Linked DNA regions of Homo sapiens: all the other regions are linked to region 3. Evidence: promoter capture Hi-C in 16 types of primary human blood cells and fetal thymus (Javierre and others, 2016). All regions are on one chromosome and are shown on one strand. Each heading gives the region's core, a stretch centred on a gene start or on the middle of the fragment in contact. The rest is flanking DNA. Distances are from core to core; before and after follow the strand shown. Region 1 overlaps C14orf93 (chromosome 14 open reading frame 93). Region 2 overlaps LOC105370406 (a long non-coding RNA gene). Region 3 holds the start of CEBPE (CCAAT enhancer binding protein epsilon).

Region 1 (3,573 bases), core at 234-2,733, 130 kb after region 3:
TGCACTCTAGCCTGGACAACAGAGCAAGACTCTGTCTCTTAATAAATAAATAAAGCTGGGCGTGGTGGCTCATGCCTGTAATCCCAGCACTTTGGGAAGCCGAGGTGGGTGGATCACGAGGTCAGGAGTTCAAGACCAGCCTGGCCAACATGGTGAAACCCCATCTCTACCAAAAATACAAAAATTAGCTGGGAATGGTGGTGCATTCCTGTAATCCCAGCTAACTAGGGAGGCTGAGCCAGGAGAATTGCTTGAACCAGGACCCTGGAGGCAGAGGTTGCAGTGAGCCGAGATCACGCCACTGCACCCCAGCCTGGGCTACAGAGTAAGACTCCATCTCAAAAAAATAAAAAATAAAAATAAATAAATAAATAAATAAATAAATATTTTAGGTGCTATTATGGGCAAAACTGGGAACAGATTTTGAAGCATCTAAGGCAAAACTTTTTCTTTCTTTTTTTTTTTTTTTTGAAACAGAGTCTCACTTTATTGCCCAGGCTGGAGTGCAGTGGCACGATCTCAGCTCACTGCAACCTCCGCCTCCTGGGTTCAAGCAATTCCTCTGTCTCAGCCTCCTGAGTAGCTGGGACTACAGTCGCACGCCACCACGCCTGGCTAATTTTTGTATTTTTAGTAGAGATGAGGTTTCACCATGTTGGTCAGGCTGGTCTCGAGCTCCTGACCTCAGGTGATCCACCCGCCTTGGCCTCCCAAAGTACTGGGATTACAGGCATGAGCCACCACGCCCAGCCGGCAAAACTTTTTAATGAGTAGAAATGTTCAACAATAGAATAAGCTGACTCAGAATGGAGAACTCATCATTAGATGGGTATAAACAAAGTGGAAAGACAGCCTGTTTAATGATGTGAAAGGGAGATTGGGTAATATAATATAGCCTCCACGGTCTTTTCCGATTCACGTTTCTGTTATTTTAGATTTCTGTTTTTCAGACCATGGTGTATATACTCCAGAGATTTGTGGTAACACATGAAGAAATACATAAAGCCACAGACAAACCCGGGGCTTTTGCCTGGGTCATCAGTTTTACTAGCAGATTCCAGAAGATGGCCAGGCACGGTGGCTCATGCCTGTAATCCCAGCACTTTGGGAGGCTGAGGCAGGTGGTTCACGAGGTCAAGAGATCAAGACCATCCTGGCCAACATGGTGAAACCCCATCTCTACTAAAAATACAAAAATTAGCTGGATGTGGTGGTGGTGCACCTGTAGTCCCAGCTACTCGGGAGGCTGAGGCAGGAGAATTGCTTGAACCCGGGAGGTGGAGGTTGCAGTGAGCCGAGATCCCGCCATTGCACTCCAGCCTGGCAACAGAGTGAGACTCTGTCTCAAAAAGAAAAAAGAAAAATTGCAGAAGACATTTTTATATTAAACAGGCCCGGTGCGGTGGCTCACACCTGTAATCCCAGCACACTTTGGGAGGCTGAGGTGGGTAGATCACAAGGTTAGGAGTTCGAGACCAGCCTGACCAACATGGTGAAACCCCATCTCTACTAAAAATACAAAAATTAGCTGGATGTGGTGGTGGTGCACCTGTAGTCCCAGCTACTCAGGAGGCTGAGGCAGGAGAATTGCTTGAACCCGGGAGGCGGAGGATGCAGTGAGCTGAGATGGCACCACCTGCCTTGGCCTCCCAAAGTACTGGGATTACAGGCATGAGCCACCGCGCCCGGCTGGCAAAACTTTTTAATGAGTGCACTCCAGCCTGGGTGACAGAGTGAAACTCTGTCTCAGAAAGAAAAAAAAAAAGAAAAGAAATACAAATACATTTTGAAGAAAAAATTTAAATGTGCAAGAGTAGGGGCCGGGCGCAGTGGCTTACACCTGTAATCCCAGCACTTTGGGAGGCCGAGGCGGGCAGATCATGAGGTCAGGAGATTGTGACCATCCTGGCTAACACGGTGAAACCCCGTCTCTACTAAAAATACAAAAAATTAGCCGGACGTGGTGGCAGGCACCTGTAGTCCCAGCTACTCAGGAAGCTGAGGGAGGAGAATGGCGTGAACCCGAGAGGCAGAGCTTGCAGTGAGCCAAGATCGTGCCACTGCACTCCAGCCTGGGCGACATAACGAGACTCCGTCTCAAAAAAAAAAAAAAGAAAAGGAAAGAAAAAAAAGTGCAAGAGAAGGGGACTTCAGGAAATGTTCACTTGGCTGGGCGTGGTGGCTCATGCCTGTAATCCCACCACTTTGGAAGGTCAAGGCGGGCAGATCACCTGAGATCAGGAGTTTAAGACCAGCCTGGCCAACATGGTGAAACCCCGTCTCTACAAAAATACAAAAATTAGCCAGGCATGATGGCAGGTGCCCGTACTCTGAGCTACTCGAGAGGCTGAGGCGGGAGAATCGCTTGAACCCGGGAGGCAGAGGTTGCAGTGAGCCGAGATCGCGCCACTGCACTCTAGCCTGGGCGACAGAGCAAGACTCCATCTCAAAAAAAAAAAAAGAAAGAAAAGTAAAAAAGAAATGTTCACTCGCAGTACTCCTGGTGTATACTTGCTTTCTCGTTGCTATCAGGGGTATGTTCATGGAAATGTTTGAGACCCTCTGCTCCAGTGATCACACTACTCAGGAGCAGAAGTAAGGCCAGGGATGATCCTGGAATCCTGACACACATGAAATGAAAAGTCAGGGAAGACCACACTAGAAATAGTAACTTGGATAGGCTCTTGGCTTAGAAAGGATTCAGGCAGAGAGCCCCTTAGGGACAATACCTTTTTACCCTAGGGACCAGAGGAGAGTTTTCATAACATCCACTCTTGGCTTGATTGTGTTTTCTTTTTTTCCTCCTAGAAACTGGTCCACAATGTGCATAACCACATCACCAATGACAAGAGATTCAATGGGTCTGAAAGGTATGGTCTCCTTGAGGAAAAAGAATTAGAAGGTACTTTGCTAAGGACAGGGAAGTAGAGGGGGATGCTCCAATACAGCAATGAGACTAAGGCTTTGATCTCACCATACCTTCTTAGGCTGTGGAGGGATTTGCCACAAAGTTGATTAGTGCTGGGTATCTCTGTTTGTCTGGCTCTTACAAAGCCGACAACTTTATTCATTCTCTTCTCTTTGTGGCAGCATCAAGTCCTCTTGGAATATTTCAGTAGTGAAGTTTCTTCTGGAAAAGCTCAAGCAAGAGCTGGTGACCAGTCCCCACAATTACACTGATAAGGAGCTAAAAGGTGAGAAAAACTGGTTTAACTCCTATGCCATCCTTTCTCCCCCTCTCCTCCCACTCCTCTTTCTTGGTCAGAGGAGAAGAGGAATAATAGAGATGATTAGGTGGTTTTGAAAATAGTGGATTTGAAACATTTTTTGGCTATTCTCACCTTCAATATATTCATAGAATTATCTCAAATTGCCTGTTTATTTCCCTCTCAGTCTGAAACGAAAATGAGAGAAGGAAAGGGCTAGAACAGCATCATGCATTCTGTTTATGCAGGTCTTGCACCTAAGGTGTTACGAGGAGGAGGAATCTAAGGTGTTATGAGGAGGTGTTATGTTCAGAAGCCAGGCCTGCCCCTTGGTCCCTAAATATTATTTCCCAGGCTTTCTCTTTCC
Region 2 (3,447 bases), core at 531-3,030, 90 kb before region 3:
ACTTACCAGTGAAGCCATCTAAGCCTGGAGTTTTCTTTGTGGGAAGATTTTTAGCTACAAATTCAATTATATTAATAGGTATAGAGATATTTAGGTTATCTATTCATCTTGCCTGTGTTTTAGTAGTTTATGTCTTTCAAGGAGTTCGTCCATTTTTATCTAAGTTGTTCAATTTGTTGCTTTTTCTTTCTTTTTTTTTTTGAGACAGAGTCTCACTCTGTTGCCCAGGCTGGAGGGCAGTGGTGCAATCTCAGCTCACCACAACTTTCACCTCCCAGATTCAAGCAATTCTCCTGCCTCAGCCTCCCAGGTAGCTGGGATTACAGGCGTACGCCATCACGACCAGCTAATTTTTTTATTTTCAGTAGAGACGGGGTTTCACTATGTTGGCCAGTCTGGTCTCGAAGTCCTGACCTCGTGATCTGTCCACCTTGGCCTCCCAAAGTGAATTTGTTGCTTTAACACTGTTTATAACATTATCTTATTCATTATCTTTTTGTAAAATAGCTTTTTATTTTGGAATAATTTTAGATTTACAGGAAAGTTTGCAAAGGTAGTACAGAGAGTTCCTGGATATCCTTCACCCAGTTTCAGTTTTCCCTAATGTTATCATCCTACATTTCTTTTTTTTTTTTTTTTTTTGAGACAGAGTCTCACACTGTCACCTGGACTGGAGGGCAATGGCGTGATCCTGGCTCACTGCAACCTCCACCTCCTGGGCTCATGCAATTCTCCTGCCTCAGCCTCCTGAGTAGCTGGGATTACAGGCTCACACCACCACACCCAGCTAATTTTTTGCATTTTTAGTAGAGACGGGGTTTCACTATGTTGGCAAGACTGGTCTCAAACTCCTGACCTCGTGATCCACCCGCCTCAGCCTCCCAAAGTTCTGGGATTATAGGCGTGAGCCACCACGCCCACCCCATCCTACATTTCTATGTGATATTTGTCAAAACTGAGAAACCAACATTGGCACATTATAATTAACTAAACTCCAGACTTTGTTCAAATCTCATTTTCCTACTAATATCCTTTCTCTGTTCTACAGTCCAAGCCTATATACCGCACTGCGTTTCATTGTCATGTCTCATTAGCATTCTCTGGTCAGAGACGGTTTCTCAATCTTTCATTGTGTTTCATGAGCTTGACGGTTTTAAGGAAAATGGGTCATGTGTTTTGTAGAATGTCCCTCAGTTTGGGCTTGTCTGATGCTTGTATCATGATTCAACTTAGTCATAGGGGTATTTGTTTATTTTGTTTGTTCGTGTTTTGAGACAGTCTCACTCTATTGCCCAGGCGGAGTGCAGTGGTGCAATCTTGGCTCCCTGCAACCTCCACCTTCCAGGTTCAAGCAATTTTCCTGCCTCAGCCTCCCCAGTAGCTGGGATTACAGGCACACACATCATGCCAGCTAATTTTTGTATTTTTAACAGAGACAGGGTTTCATCATGTTGGCCAGGCTGGTCTCAAACTCCTGGCTTCAAGTGATCAGCCCACCTCGGCCTCCCAAAGTGCTGTGATTACAGGTTTGAGTCACCTCACTGGGCCAGTCATAGATGTTTTAAAAGAATCACAGAGGCAAAGTGCCCTGTCATCATGTTGTATCAGGGGTACATGATATCCATATATCTAACTGATGATATTAATTTTGAGTTGTTGTTTAAGAGAGTGGTTGCCAGGTTTCTCCACTGTAAAGTTACTATTTTTCCCTTTCCATCTATTCTTTGAAAGAGAGTCCCTCAATCCAGCCTACCCTCAAAGTGGTTAAGCATTACCTCCTGCAAGAAAAAGTATCTACATATATTATTTAAAATTTGGAAGTCAAAGTATTCTGTAAAGATTTGTTTCCACTCCACCATTTAGTCTTTTAGTCAATCATTTGTTTATATCAGTATGGAGGCATGTATATTTTATACATTGGATATCTAATATTAGATACTTTTACACATTTTATACATTGGATTATAATCTAATACTGTCAGAGGTGTGTGAACCAGAGCAACTCCATCTTAAATAGGAGCTGGGTAAAATGAGGCTGAAACCTACTGAGCTGCATTCCCAGATGGTTAAGGCATTCTAAGTCACAGGATGAGATAGGTCAGCACAAAATACAGGTCATAAAGACCTTGCTGGTAAAACAGGTTGCGGTAAAGGAACCGGCCAAAACCCACCAAAACCAAAATGGCTACGAGAGTGACCTCTGGTCGTCCTTACTGCTACACTCCCACCAGCACCATGACAGTTTACAAATGCCATGGCAACGTCAGGAAGTTATCTTATATGGTCTAAAAAGGGGAGGCATGAATAATCCACCCCTTGTTTAGCATATCATCAATACATAACCATAAACATGGGCAACCAGGCCGGGCACGGTGGCTCACGCCTGTAATCCCAGCACTCTGGGAGGCCAAGGCGGGCGGATCACGAGGTCAGGAGATCGAGACCATCCCGGCTAACACGATGAAACCCCGTCTCTACTAAAAATACAAAAAATTAGCCAGGCGTAGTGGCGGGCACCTGTAGTCCCAACTACTCAGGGGGCTGAGTCAGGAGAATGGCGTGAACCTGGGAGGCAGAGCTTGCAGTGACCTGAGATCGCGCCATTGCACTCCAGCCTGGGCGACAGAGTGAGACTCCGTCTCAAAAAAAAAAAAAAAAAAACGGCAACCAGCAGCCCTTGGGACTGCTCTGTCTGTGAAGTAGCCATTCTTTTATTCCTTTACTTTCTTAATAAACTTGCTTTCACTTTGCACTGCAGACTCACCCTGAGTTCTTTCTTGAGTGAGATCCAAGAACTCTCTCTTGGGGTCTGGGTCTGGGCCCCTTTCCTGTAACAATACTGTGCTACTTATTTTGTTGCTCAAATTATTCCAGCTTTGGCCATGGAAGAGCACTTTCAGATTGACTCCTATGTCATTTTTTTTAGAGATAGGATCTCACTCTGTCACCCATTCTAGAGTGCAGTGTGATCATAGCTCATTGCAGTCTTGAACTCCTGGGCTCAAGTTATTCTCCAGCTCCAATCTTCCAGGTAGCTAGAACTACAGGCACACACCATCACTCTGGACTAATTTATGTATTTATTTATTTTTGGAGGGACAGGGTCTCAAACTCCTGGCCTCCAGTGATCTTCTCGTCCAATGTGCTGGAATTACAAGTGTGAGCCACCACATCCGGCTGACTCCTAAGTCTTTTGAAATGTGCCACACTCATCTCGTGCTTTCCTTGACCCAGCTCTAAAAGCCATTTCTCCAAGGAGCCCAGGTTGCCCTTATTGTGAAAGGAAATAAATCTTGGGGCCCCCAAATCACTAAGCTAAAGGGAATAGTCAAGCTGGGAACTGCTTAGGGCAAACCTGCCTCCCATTCTCTTCAAAGTCACCCCTGTACTCACTGATATAGATGCATATCTGATTGCCTCCTTTGGAAAGGCTAACAGAAACTCAAA
Region 3 (3,599 bases), core at 1-2,500:
ACCTACAATCCCTTTTGGAGATGAAATTCAACAGGTAAAAGCAGTACCAGAGCAGGTGTCTCTGAAAGGAGGTAGTGGGGAGTTCCCAAAGGAAAGAGAAAAGGGAAGAGGAGAGCCAGCACAGAACAAAGAATTGCAGAGAGGGAGCCATGGGCTTCTCCTGGAGACCCTAAAACAGAGCCCCAGGAAGAGGTGATGACATAAGAGGCTTCTCAAACCTCACAAGAGGAAGTAGACCCAAGAGACACGCATTGGAGATCAGAGAGCGGCCATGCAAAAGGAAAGACAGCAAACGAGCTGCAGCAAGCTCCTAAGCCCTGCAGCCCAGGCACAGGAAACCAGAGGCAGAGCCTCAGGCCCAGGGTGAGGGGCGAAGCACCAGCCTGAGCCTCTTGCAGCACAGAGCAGCTGGAAGAGAGAAGTGCTGGAGCCACCGGAGGATTATGGCTGTCTACTCCGAGGGCAGCAACCTGCCTAGGCCTGCGGTGCAAGGCCCAAGTCCTGACCAGGTGCTTTGGCCAAGCCCAGGGAGTTAGGAAGTGTACCAGGCTGCTAGAGGTAGCTAGGGCTGGAAACGCACTAACATGTGGGCTATTGCACAGCTCCTGTGCAAAAACCTAGCAAATGAGCATGCTCTGGAGCACCACGCAGGCTCGCGTGTAGAGCTTGTTCCTAGGACCTATCACTACTCCCTAGACCCCTCAAAAAACAAACCCTGGCCTACACTCAGAGAATGCTCTGGGAGGTGGGGCTACAAAAGAAACTTTCTCTTGGGGGTAGGTGGAGCCCAGCAGCAGGGGAGAGCCAGAGGAAGGCGTGTCAAGGGAGGAGGTGAGACCCAACTGAGGGTAGGCACTGGAAGAGGGCTTTCTCTCTTCACTCTAACTTGGAACCTCATTCTGCATAGAACTTTTTCAAAGTCGGAGGGAGGAGGTTGCTCAGAGTGGGGTGTTGCCCTCTGCGAGGATTTGGAGTCCCCTGGCCTCCCAGCAGGGAGTGGAGAGGCATTCCCAGAAGCATCAGCTTCGGGCATCTCCAGAACCCTGGCTTGGTCCCTGACCAAGGAGTGTCCCCAACTGCTGAATAGGCCAGGAGTCGCCTTTCTCTAAGGCTTACATCTCTCCCTCTGGGGTGTGTCCTGCCCCTCCCTGAGTCACCCCAAGGGGAGAGAGGGGAAAAAAGGGAAGAGAAGAGAGGCATTGACTACAGAGGAAGGAAAAGGAAGCAGAGCAGAGGGGGGAGAGAGGCCACACAGGAGTGGGTGACAGAGGAGACTGCAGAGGGCAGGTCTAGGGCAGAAGATCGAGAGAGGGCAGGCCCAGGTCAGGAGGAGGTAGAGAGAGGGCAGCCGGAGCACCCCAAGGGGTGCCTCAAGAGCAGGTGGGGGCGGGGAGCCGAGGGGGCGGGCCGGCCATGTCCCACGGGACCTACTACGAGTGTGAGCCCCGGGGTGGCCAGCAGCCACTCGAGTTCTCAGGGGGCCGAGCTGGGCCCGGGGAGCTAGGGGACATGTGTGAGCATGAGGCCTCCATTGACCTCTCCGCCTACATCGAGTCTGGGGAAGAGCAGCTTCTCTCCGATCTCTTTGCCGTGAAGCCAGCGCCTGAGGCCAGAGGCCTCAAGGGCCCCGGAACCCCTGCCTTCCCCCACTACTTGCCGCCTGACCCTCGGCCCTTTGCCTACCCTCCACATACCTTCGGCCCAGACAGGAAGGCGCTGGGGCCTGGCATCTACAGCAGCCCAGGGAGCTACGACCCCAGGGCTGTGGCGGTGAAGGAGGAGCCCCGGGGGCCAGAGGGCAGCCGAGCTGCCAGCCGAGGCAGCTACAATCCCCTGCAGTACCAAGTGGCACACTGTGGGCAGACAGCCATGCACCTGCCCCCAACTCTGGCAGCACCCGGCCAGCCTCTGCGCGTTCTCAAGGTAAGAGCAGGCCAGCCCTCCTCCCTCCTGCCCGGGGCTGGAGAGGCTGGTGTGGACAGGACCCTGTGCCCCGGCTCATGCTGCTGAGCCTGTGCTTGGTGTCGCTCTGTGAAATGGACCCAACCCACAGTCCTCTGTGTTCACACCCCACCATGACCTCCCTTTCCTTCTCTGTGAATTCATTCCCACCCTGAATCCCCACCCAAAGCCCCTGTGGCAAGCTGACCTACTTGATCTCAGGCCCCCACCGCCAGCCTCTCTGCTGCTCACCATGCCCCCTCCTCTTGTTTCTCTGCCGCCTGCTTCTGTGAGAAATGTCTACTGGTCATAGAACGGGAGACTCAAGGCAGATTGAGGGAAAGTGTACTCAGAAAGTGTGAGAGCATTGGCTGGGTGTCGTGGCTCATGCCTGTAATCCCAGCGCTTTGGGAGGCCAAAGCAGGAGGTTCGCTTAAGGCCAGGGGTTGGAGACCAGCCTGGACAACATAGCAAGGCTCCATCTTTACAAAAAAAGAAAGAAAGAAAGTGTGAGAACATGAAAGGGAGTTTTGGTCTCAAGCAGAGGACCCTGTGCATCTGGGTCACCATCTCCCAGAAGCAGAGCGATGATAGTTTTGACCTGAGAGACAGGAGCTGGCTCTGAGTCCTGTATTCCTTTGACGCATCAAGTGTGCCCTGGCTGCCGAGATTCCCGCCCCGCCTCCGCTCTGCCTCCTGGCCAGCCCTCACCTCTCCGTCTCTCCGTGCCTTCCCCTCCAGGCCCCTTTGGCCACTGCCGCACCCCCCTGCAGTCCCCTCCTGAAGGCGCCCTCCCCGGCTGGCCCCTTACACAAGGGCAAGAAGGCAGTGAACAAAGATAGCCTTGAGTACCGGCTGAGGCGGGAGCGCAACAACATCGCCGTGCGCAAGAGCCGAGACAAGGCCAAGAGGCGCATTCTGGAGACGCAGCAGAAGGTGCTGGAGTACATGGCAGAGAACGAGCGCCTCCGCAGCCGCGTGGAGCAGCTCACCCAGGAGCTAGACACCCTCCGCAACCTCTTCCGCCAGATTCCTGAGGCGGCCAACCTCATCAAGGGCGTGGGGGGTTGCAGCTGAGGCTGGCTGGTGGATTGTGGGCACCAGGCTCCCTGGCACGGCCTAACTCTGCGGACCCCCATCCTGCTGGGGGCCTAGAACCCTGAGACATAGACCATGGATAAATGGCAACCGGGGTGGCAAAGAGGGCAGGACCCAGCATAATGATTATATGGCTGAATAAAGTTGCACTGTGACTGGGTGTTGGGACTGTTGGCTGTGTGTGTGTGTGTGTGTGTGTGTGTGTGTGTGTGTGTGTCATGGAGGACCCTGGGGACAGAGGATGCATGTGGCTAGGTCTGCACCTCTTGTTTCCATGACCAAGTGGACATGTGGAAACACAGACATGCTGTCCACAGCCCACCCCCAATATACCACACAGCCAGGCCGTGTATCTGTCACTCTGCTCTTCTCTCCCTGACATCCCCCATCACCCCCTTCTGTGAGCTGAAGGCACATCCCCGCCCCCCACAGGACCTGGAGCACCTTTGTATGCTCTGCTAACAAAGATCTTCAGCTTGTAGGGAGATCCCGGCACCACACAGTCCTTCATGCCCAGGCCTGCTGATCCCAGGCCCACTCTCTCTCACCTTGAGGTATAG

What was found. The method cuts DNA at HindIII sites, captures the fragments that hold promoters and counts their contacts. A CHiCAGO score of 5 or more calls a contact.
Region 1: a contact is called between a fragment that was not itself captured here and the fragment with the promoter of CEBPE in region 3, in 2 of 17 cell types (M0 macrophages and M2 macrophages). The highest score is 6.4, in M0 macrophages.
Region 2: a fragment that was not itself captured here is called in contact with the fragment with the promoter of CEBPE in region 3 in 1 of 17 cell types (M0 macrophages); the score reaches 5.0 in M0 macrophages.

The regions. Positions count from the first base shown.
Region 1 is chr14:22,989,363-22,992,935 of GRCh38, reverse strand. It overlaps C14orf93 (chromosome 14 open reading frame 93), which reads left to right. Exons shown (of 7, transcript NM_021944.4): 4 at 2,809-2,870; 5 at 3,091-3,194. It overlaps AJUBA-DT (AJUBA divergent transcript), which reads right to left. Exons shown (of 3, transcript XR_007064074.1): 2 at 2,730-3,187. Among named protein-coding and RNA genes, the nearest start is that of AJUBA-DT, 6.8 kb to the right of the region's middle. The HindIII fragment of the contact is 4,277 bases long and covers 1-3,573 here.
Region 2 is chr14:23,207,972-23,211,418 of GRCh38, reverse strand. The region is part of intron 1 of LOC105370406 (a long non-coding RNA gene); the gene reads left to right. It also overlaps a transcript of RNF212B not described here. Among named protein-coding and RNA genes, the nearest start is that of SLC7A8, 26 kb to the right of the region's middle. The HindIII fragment of the contact is 8,966 bases long and covers 1-3,447 here.
Region 3 is chr14:23,116,906-23,120,504 of GRCh38, reverse strand. CEBPE (CCAAT enhancer binding protein epsilon) reads left to right here and starts at 1,250. Exons shown (of 2, transcript NM_001805.4): 1 at 1,250-1,923; 2 at 2,683-3,199. The coding sequence starts at 1,414. The coding sequence ends at 3,018. RefSeq lists enhancers at 1-451, 532-611. The HindIII fragment of the contact is 9,723 bases long and covers 1-3,599 here.